2 separate regions of the Homo sapiens genome follow, and region 1 is linked to region 2. Evidence: promoter capture Hi-C in human tissues and cell types (Jung and others, 2019). All regions are on one chromosome and are shown on one strand. Each heading gives the region's core, a stretch centred on a gene start or on the middle of the fragment in contact. The rest is flanking DNA. Distances are from core to core; before and after follow the strand shown. Region 1 overlaps MICAL3 (microtubule associated monooxygenase, calponin and LIM domain containing 3). Region 2 holds the start of PEX26 (peroxisomal biogenesis factor 26).

Region 1 (3,519 bases), core at 687-3,186, 260 kb before region 2:
CAAGATCCCTGACGTACGTACAGAGGGGCCAGGACTGTAAGAAGACTTACCACAGCTATTTATCACGGTGCATTATGATCAAATTGTCCTCCCTAGGAAGCTCAAAGATGTGCAGAGATTCCTGCACCAGCCCTTATATCACCCCATCCAAGAGCCTCAAACAAAGCCTCCCCATTTCACAGACGGCTGAGCGCAGTGGCTCACACCTGTAATCCCAGCACTTTGGGAGGACGAAGTGGGCAGATCACGAGGTCAGGAGATCGAGACCATCCTGGCTAACATGGTGAAATCCCGTCTCTACTAAAAATACAAAAACAAAATTAGGCAGGTGTGGTGGTGGGTGCCTACAGTCCCAGCTACTCGGGAGGCTGAGGCAGAAGAATGGCGTGAACCCGGGAGGTGGAGCTTGCAGTGAGCCAAGATCGCGCCACTGCATCCTAGCCTGGGTGACAGTGAGAGACTCCATCTCAAAAAAAAAAAAAAAAAAAAAAAAAAAATCCAATCAGTGAACAGGCTAGGTACAGTGGCTCATGCTGTAATCCCAGCACTTTGGGAGGCTGAGGCAGGAGGATTGCTTGAGCCGAGGAGTTGGGAGGCTGCAGTGAGCCATGATCATGCCACTGCACTATTGCCCATGCCAGTCTGGGCAAGAGACTGAGACCCTGTCTCAAAAAAAAAAAAAAAAATCACTGAATAGTTCCATGCTTCCTAGAATCCCAAAGACTAAATCAAGCAGATGCAGGCCTTATATTCCAGCTTTCTCCCTGATCTGACCTGCAGACAGTATTTCCCAAACCATGTTCCACAGGACCTGCTGTCACAGTTGGCTTTGCAGCATTCTCCATGTGGTTCACACACCACAGGCTGTCTGCATGGACGCTGTAAATTTCTTTTTTTTTGAGACGGAGTCTCGCTCTGTCGCCCAGGCTGGAGTGCAGTGGTGCCATCTCGGCTCACTGCAAGCTCCGCCTTCCGGGTTCATGCCATTCTCCTGCCTCAGCCTCCTGAGTAGCTGGGACTACAGGCGCCCGCCACCACGCCCGGCTAATTTTTTGTATTGTTAGTAGAGACAGGCTATCACTGTGTTAACCAGGATGGTCTCGATCTCCTGACCTCGTGATCTGCCTGCCTTGGCCTCCCAAAGTGCTGGGATTACAGGCGTGAGCCACCGCGCCTGGCCAGATGTTGTAAATTTCAATGGTTATACATTTATTTTAACATAATGTTAAAAATGCATTTGTCATATCAAACCAACCATCCCATCGATATTATTGCTTTAATTTAAACAAATTTATTTTTAATAAAATATCAAATGTTTTATACCATTTATCATAAAAATTATATTATTTTTAATATATTATAAATTTATAAAAAATAAATTTGTTCTAATAAATTTTAATAAATTTATATTTATAAACATAAATTTTAATAAATTTATATTTATAAACATAAATTTTAATAAATTTATGTTTATAAACATAAATTTTAATAAATTTATATTTATAAACATAAATTTTAATAAATTTATATTTATAAACAATTTTAATACACCTATGTTTATTATACATTTATTAAATATAATAAATTATTTATTTTTAATAAATTTGTTTAAATTAAACATATGGTGTGTGGTATGTGGACCTAACACAGTGACACGGGGTAGAGGACTCAGGTTTGGGATCAGAGTGGGGCAGAGGTAGTAGGTGCCACCCAGACGGCCTCATCCCCAAGAGTACTGAGCTGGAACTCCAAGGCCACTCCTGTCATCAACAGCTCCACTTAGTACAAGGAGGATGATAGTTTTCAGTCTTCCTCAGAATGAGGAGGCCAGCAGGCTATGTTAGCCCCAGTCTTGGTGGGACCCACACCATGGGCCCTGAAACAGAGAAGTTAATATGTGTCCTTGGGGTCCCATTAGTTCTCTGTACCCCACAGCGAGCCCCAAACCCTTACCTCTGTTGAGGGGCTGTGGACTGGAATGAACAGAAGAGCTGATTCCTGGGGAGACCGGATGGGGCTGGTGGCTTGGGAGGGACCTGAAAAGAATGAACACAGGGACTTACAAGAGGAAGCCCCCCCATGTGCCAGGAAGGCACCCCTATCAGCCAGCCCCAGAGGGTGGAGGGGAGGGTAGAGGGCGAGTCGCTGAGTCGGCTCCCAGTTCTCCTGGAAAGCACAGGTTCTCTCAGAGGCCAGGGTCCTGGAACCGTCTTCCCGGGGCTGCCCGGCACTCTCTGCAGGTGCTCCTGTCAACACCAGGTCAGGCCGTGGGCTTCCTCCATGTGCAGACTCTGCACACAGAGCTTCAGGACAAACCTTCTACCTTCTCCCAGACCCAAACTATGCAAGGAAAGGGCCTTTGGCCAAAGCAACTGCAGCAGCCTGTGGCACAGGGAGGGTGGACAGAGGAGGAAAAGGCAAGGAGCTGCCCACACCTCGGAGGCTGGTGTGCACCATGGCTCTGCTCTGAAGCGCCTGGCCCCTGAGCCACTCTTGTGTGCATATGGCCCTCGTAGGAATTCTGAAAGTTGTTTCTCCCATCAAAGACAGGCTCACCTCTCTCTTGGTGCTTCGGTGAGGCGGGCAGCTTCTCCTCATCTTCCGACACCCTCAGCTCCAGCTCTGCTTCCCCCTCAGCTGGGCACGGCAAACGCAGCTCTCTGTCAGCATCCGACGGGCTGTCAGACCAGTGCTGATCTGGCAGAGGGAAGGGGCAGAAGTGGGTGCACACCCTAAGTGAGGCCAACTCCTTTTCCACCTGAGAGCAGCCGCGCCACTTGCTCATTTGCAACACAGCTGCTCAGGTGCAGGCCTGGAGGCCCTTCTTACGCAGGGACAGACCTGCCTACCAGACCACCCCCGCTCCTGAGGGGCCCGGCCAAGAGCACCCTCCTGCCTTTGCAACGCGGGGCCGCATCAAAGCCTGTGGGGCTCTGTTTCTTTTAAAATACAGCAACAGTCACACATGATGGGCTGCGACAGACAAAGACAGGGTGTGCCTGTGGAGGGCAGGCCTGGCCTCACGGGCCCACTTCTATGCACCTCCTCCTCTCAGTAGCCCTGACTGCCACCCCAACTCCACAGCTGAGGCCTGCGCCCCCTCGCAAGCTTGGGTTCTTCTCATTCTTCCCAGCCTCGTCCCTGACCCCCTCAGCCCCCCACAACCAGACTGCGATGCAGAACCCATCTCCAGGTATGTAGCTTTGGGAGCCAGTCAGCAGAATTAAAGGCCTTGTATAAAGCCACAGGTTGGCTCAGGCACCCAGCTGCAGCTGGATGACTGCAGGCCAAGTCGCCTGGTGCTCGTGGGTAGGTGGTGGTTGGGTGGAATGAGATGCATTCCAGCCATGGTGGAGCCAAGAAGGAACCAGGAGGCCCAACGGCGGCCTCACTGAGCTTGATTTTGCTGGAAAGCATATTGCCTTCATCTTCCCTGAGCTCCCACCACAGGGGCGGGGAGGGCGGACCCCTACCATCATCCAGCTCAGCACCAGTGTCCCCTGGGTCCCCATCCTCTGC
Region 2 (3,692 bases), core at 668-3,167:
GTGAATCAGAAATGGAATACAATCATATTTTTATATGGTTTCTAGCTCTCCTCTCTCCTGCCTTAAATATCTTGACCTCATTCTGGCTGTCTCACTACTAAATAGGCAAATTTACTTTTAGCAAGGCTGCTTCTGTTAAGACTGTGCCTCCATCTCCTGGACAAATTTGGAATAGCAAGAAATTTGTTAGGAAAGGGACTTTTCCAGGCAGCAGCCGCTTAGAGCTGGCCGCTTCTGAGCATGTTCGTCTTCCCAGGCCTGGCTCACATTTTCAGTGCTTAATGCGCATGGCGCTTTATGCGCAATATTACTTAATTCTTCCCTCAGCCATTGGGAGCTAAGGACAAACTGTTATCCCAATTTTACAGGTGAGGAAATCAGAGCTTATTTAAATAAATTGCCGAGGTCACACAACTAGTAAGCGACAAAATCTCAGTCAAACCGAGGCTCTTTTGGTTCAAAGATGTGTATTGAGCTCTACTCTGCTCTGCAGGGACAGAACTAAGTATGTTTGCTATTCAGGGGATACACAGTCATTCCATGAGCAAGTTACACAATGTAAAATAAGGACATTGTGAAAAACAAAACCATACCGTACATAATGCACTTTATAGTAAAGTACTGGGAACAGAGTATTTGGTAAATTGTAACTATAATAATAATTTTAAACAGATCCACAAATCACACTTATTATTATATTCTGTTTCACCCGGGCTTTGCCAAGCTTCCCACATTTGTACTAGATCCTCTTGGCTTTAGTTTCTCCCCAGTTCTCTACCCTTTGAATTCACTCCAAAGCTTCCCTAGAATCTTTGCTCTCCTAGAAATTAGATTAAACAGGCACCTGCTCACATCATACATCCCCTGCCCTTGTCACCAGACATGCACACATCCATCTTCTGGGATTTCCGTTCTCTTGCAGAAAAGTCTGCATGGGAAGCTGAGGCAGAACCAAGTCCACCAGACTCCGAGGAAAGAGAAGTCTGGACCCTGTAACCAGATAAAAGTGAAACCAGGACTTCATTTATTCCACAAATACTTTTTGACTACCTATAGATGACAGGCACTGTTCAAGGCATTGAGGTTCCCACAGTGAACAAAAGAGACAAAAACGTCTGCCTTTGTGAGTTTATATCATAGTGGAAGGAAATAGACAATAAAAATAAGTAAAATATAGACATTGGTATGTAGATGGTGATAAATGATAAGGAGAAATATAAAGACAGATCGGAAGTGACAACAGTGGGGAAGTGGAATTGGTATCTGCATTTAACGTTGTTTTTTAACAGCAAATTCAGGATGGGGCAGAGAGCAGTGAGAAAAATGAGGCCCTTATGCTCAGCGCCCCCAACCCCGCCTCGGTGGGGTCACTATTCATTTTGGAACATTGCCCTTGGGACCAACATATTCTCAGTGGTCCTTGTGAAGGTTTCCACCCTAAGTCCCTCATCCTCACCAGGCAATATTCATTACCCTACAGCAAACTCCGGAGGCAACGCGGAGAAAGTGTGAATCAATTCAAGACTAAGGTTGCCAAAATGTTTGATCAGCTCTGCGTCAGCCTTGACATTACATTACATTACAGATCCCCTGATCGCCACCGTCGCAGAAGCTCTGAATTAAAAGCGTGCATGTAGCTGCACATCCATTGCTGGCACTTCTTCCGTTAGCCTCCGCTGGAACTGGTTAGTGAGGACCCCTCCATTTCACAAGACAGCTTCGGTTTTGCTTCGTTTTGACTTCCGCACCCCGAAGCTGTAGCACCAGTTTGTTTTCTCACGGCACAGGGGCGGCTTCCGGGGCGCGGCGTGCTGGGGGTTGTAGTCCGCGCTCTGCCTCCTACTTCCATTACAGAAGGCGATGGGCCGAGAGCTGAGGAACTACAACTCCTAGAGTACTCCGCGCCGCCGGGACGCCGCGCGGCTGCGGGGCTGGGCGAGCGCAAAGATGTCCGCGCCCGCTGCCGGGAGGCGAGGTGAGTCTTTGATCGTAACCAGGAGCCCGGAGCTGAGGCAGTTCCTGCACGTGTCGCGGGGCCGGAGAAGCTAGGGCCAGGTATTCCAGGGATGCAAGAATCCTGCAAATCTGACGTGTAAACTGCTTCCCCAGCCTCCAGGCGAGCCCAGCTTTTGCCTCAGATAGGCCCCTTCCTTTTCCTTCTCGGGGAATCGACCTCGGGAAGGGGTGTGGGCAAAGAGATGAGGACTCTCCCTCTTCGCCCAGGCCAACTCGGGATATCCCGGAGCCTCTGGGGAGGCGGTCACTCCGACGTCTGAGGACCTGGGCCTTGGACCCGGACTCGTTATGAAGAGCGATTCTTCGACCTCTGCAGCCCCCCTCAGGGGGCTCGGGGGACCCCTGCGCAGCAGCGAGCCGGTGCGCGCGGTCCCGGCCCGGGCGCCGGCCGTGGACCTTCTGGAGGAGGCGGCCGACCTCCTGGTGGTGCACCTGGACTTCCGGGCGGCGCTGGAGACCTGCGAGCGGGCCTGGCAGAGTCTGGCCAACCACGCCGTGGCAGAGGAACCCGCGGGCACGTACGTGCTGGGCTCGGAAATGAACCGATTTCCGGGCGCTCTTGTGGTGGGGCTCAAGGTCTCAGGAGTTCTGTCCTTCCCAGATTGCCCACAAGGAGCTTTACACCTCGCTTTCATCAGTGGTTTGTCTCCGAGAGGGTGGTCGCTCATCGTGTGCCCATTCTACAGAGAAGGGAAGTCGTGTAACAAAAACTTAGTGGGGATCCCACAGCCAATTATTTGCTCCTTGTTCCAAGGTACAATGACATGATGGGAAGGCTGAATGTGTATTAAGTGCTAAGTTCTGTCAGTAAGCAGGTGGTAAAAGTCCTCTCCCAGGTACCTCCGCCCTCCCCGCCCCGCCCAAGGTTGTTTATTCCTGACCTTGGCTGATGATGGGGAATGGGGGTCATGGCAGGAGCAGCGTTCTGGTCCAATTAGAGGACTGGATTAAAGAATTAATTCAGGGCCGGGAGCTGGGGCTTACGCCTGTAATCCCAGCACTTTGGGAGGCCGAGGCAGGAGGATTGCTTGAGCCCAGGAGTTCGAGACCAGCCTGGGTAACATAATGAGCCCTCTTCTCTACCAAAAAGAAGAAAAAGAAAAGAATCCGGAGAAAAAAACCTTGGGCTTGCATTGCTCTTTCTAATGCCACCAGCCTCGTCTGGCAGGTGAGGGAGTCATTTCTTTGCATTGTAAACTTGGGTTAGGCCACGCTAGGGAGGTGGTAGGTAGAATAGCTAAAGTTGACCACAAAGAAGGATGATCTGGAGAGCCCTGGCTGTGTTTTAGGGGACTGGGTGGGAGCTCATTTCAGTGAATGCAGAAGGCTTTGCTTCTGGGTGTCTGGAGGAACCTTACTAGGTGGTGCCTTTTAGCCAGCTATGGAGTCTATACCTCCACTCAGCCAGAAACCTTGCTCCAAGCCCATTTGTTCACAGAGCAAACTCTTAGTTCCAGCTCTCTTTTCAGCCACACACCGGTGCTGTGTGTTATTTCCCCCTCAGGATTACCCTTCCTCTTCATTTAAATCTGATTTCACCTGGATACAAAGATGAACGTTGAGCAACAGCTGACTTGCCTCTTGAAAGAGGGTTACAGGAACTTTTAGTTCCTGGGGGAAAGGGCAGCCCATGAGACCAATTGTGAAGCCCATCTAAATACTAACAGGGATGAGAG

Evidence for each region. Contacts are between HindIII fragments. The study calls those that stand out against the background at their distance.
Region 1: a contact is called between a fragment that was not itself captured here and the fragment with the promoter of PEX26 in region 2, in 3 of the 25 tissues and cell types used here (dorsolateral prefrontal cortex, lymphoblastoid cells and spleen).

What each region holds. Positions count from the first base shown.
Region 1 is chr22:17,819,474-17,822,992 of GRCh38, forward strand. It overlaps MICAL3 (microtubule associated monooxygenase, calponin and LIM domain containing 3), which reads right to left. Exons shown (of 32, transcript NM_015241.3): 23 at 3,474-3,519; 24 at 2,557-2,697; 25 at 1,954-2,036. Among named protein-coding and RNA genes, the nearest start is that of LINC00528, 44 kb to the left of the region's middle. The HindIII fragment of the contact is 4,286 bases long and covers 1-3,519 here.
Region 2 is chr22:18,076,073-18,079,764 of GRCh38, forward strand. It overlaps PEX26 (peroxisomal biogenesis factor 26), which reads left to right and starts at 1,918. Exons shown (of 5, transcript NM_001127649.3): 1 at 1,918-2,534. The coding sequence starts at 2,305. It overlaps LOC105372853 (a long non-coding RNA gene), which reads left to right. Exons shown (of 6, transcript XR_001755424.2): 6 at 1,586-1,824. RefSeq lists enhancers at 1,592-1,651, 1,982-2,211, 2,692-2,741 and a silencer at 2,282-2,331. The HindIII fragment of the contact is 17,547 bases long and covers 1-3,692 here.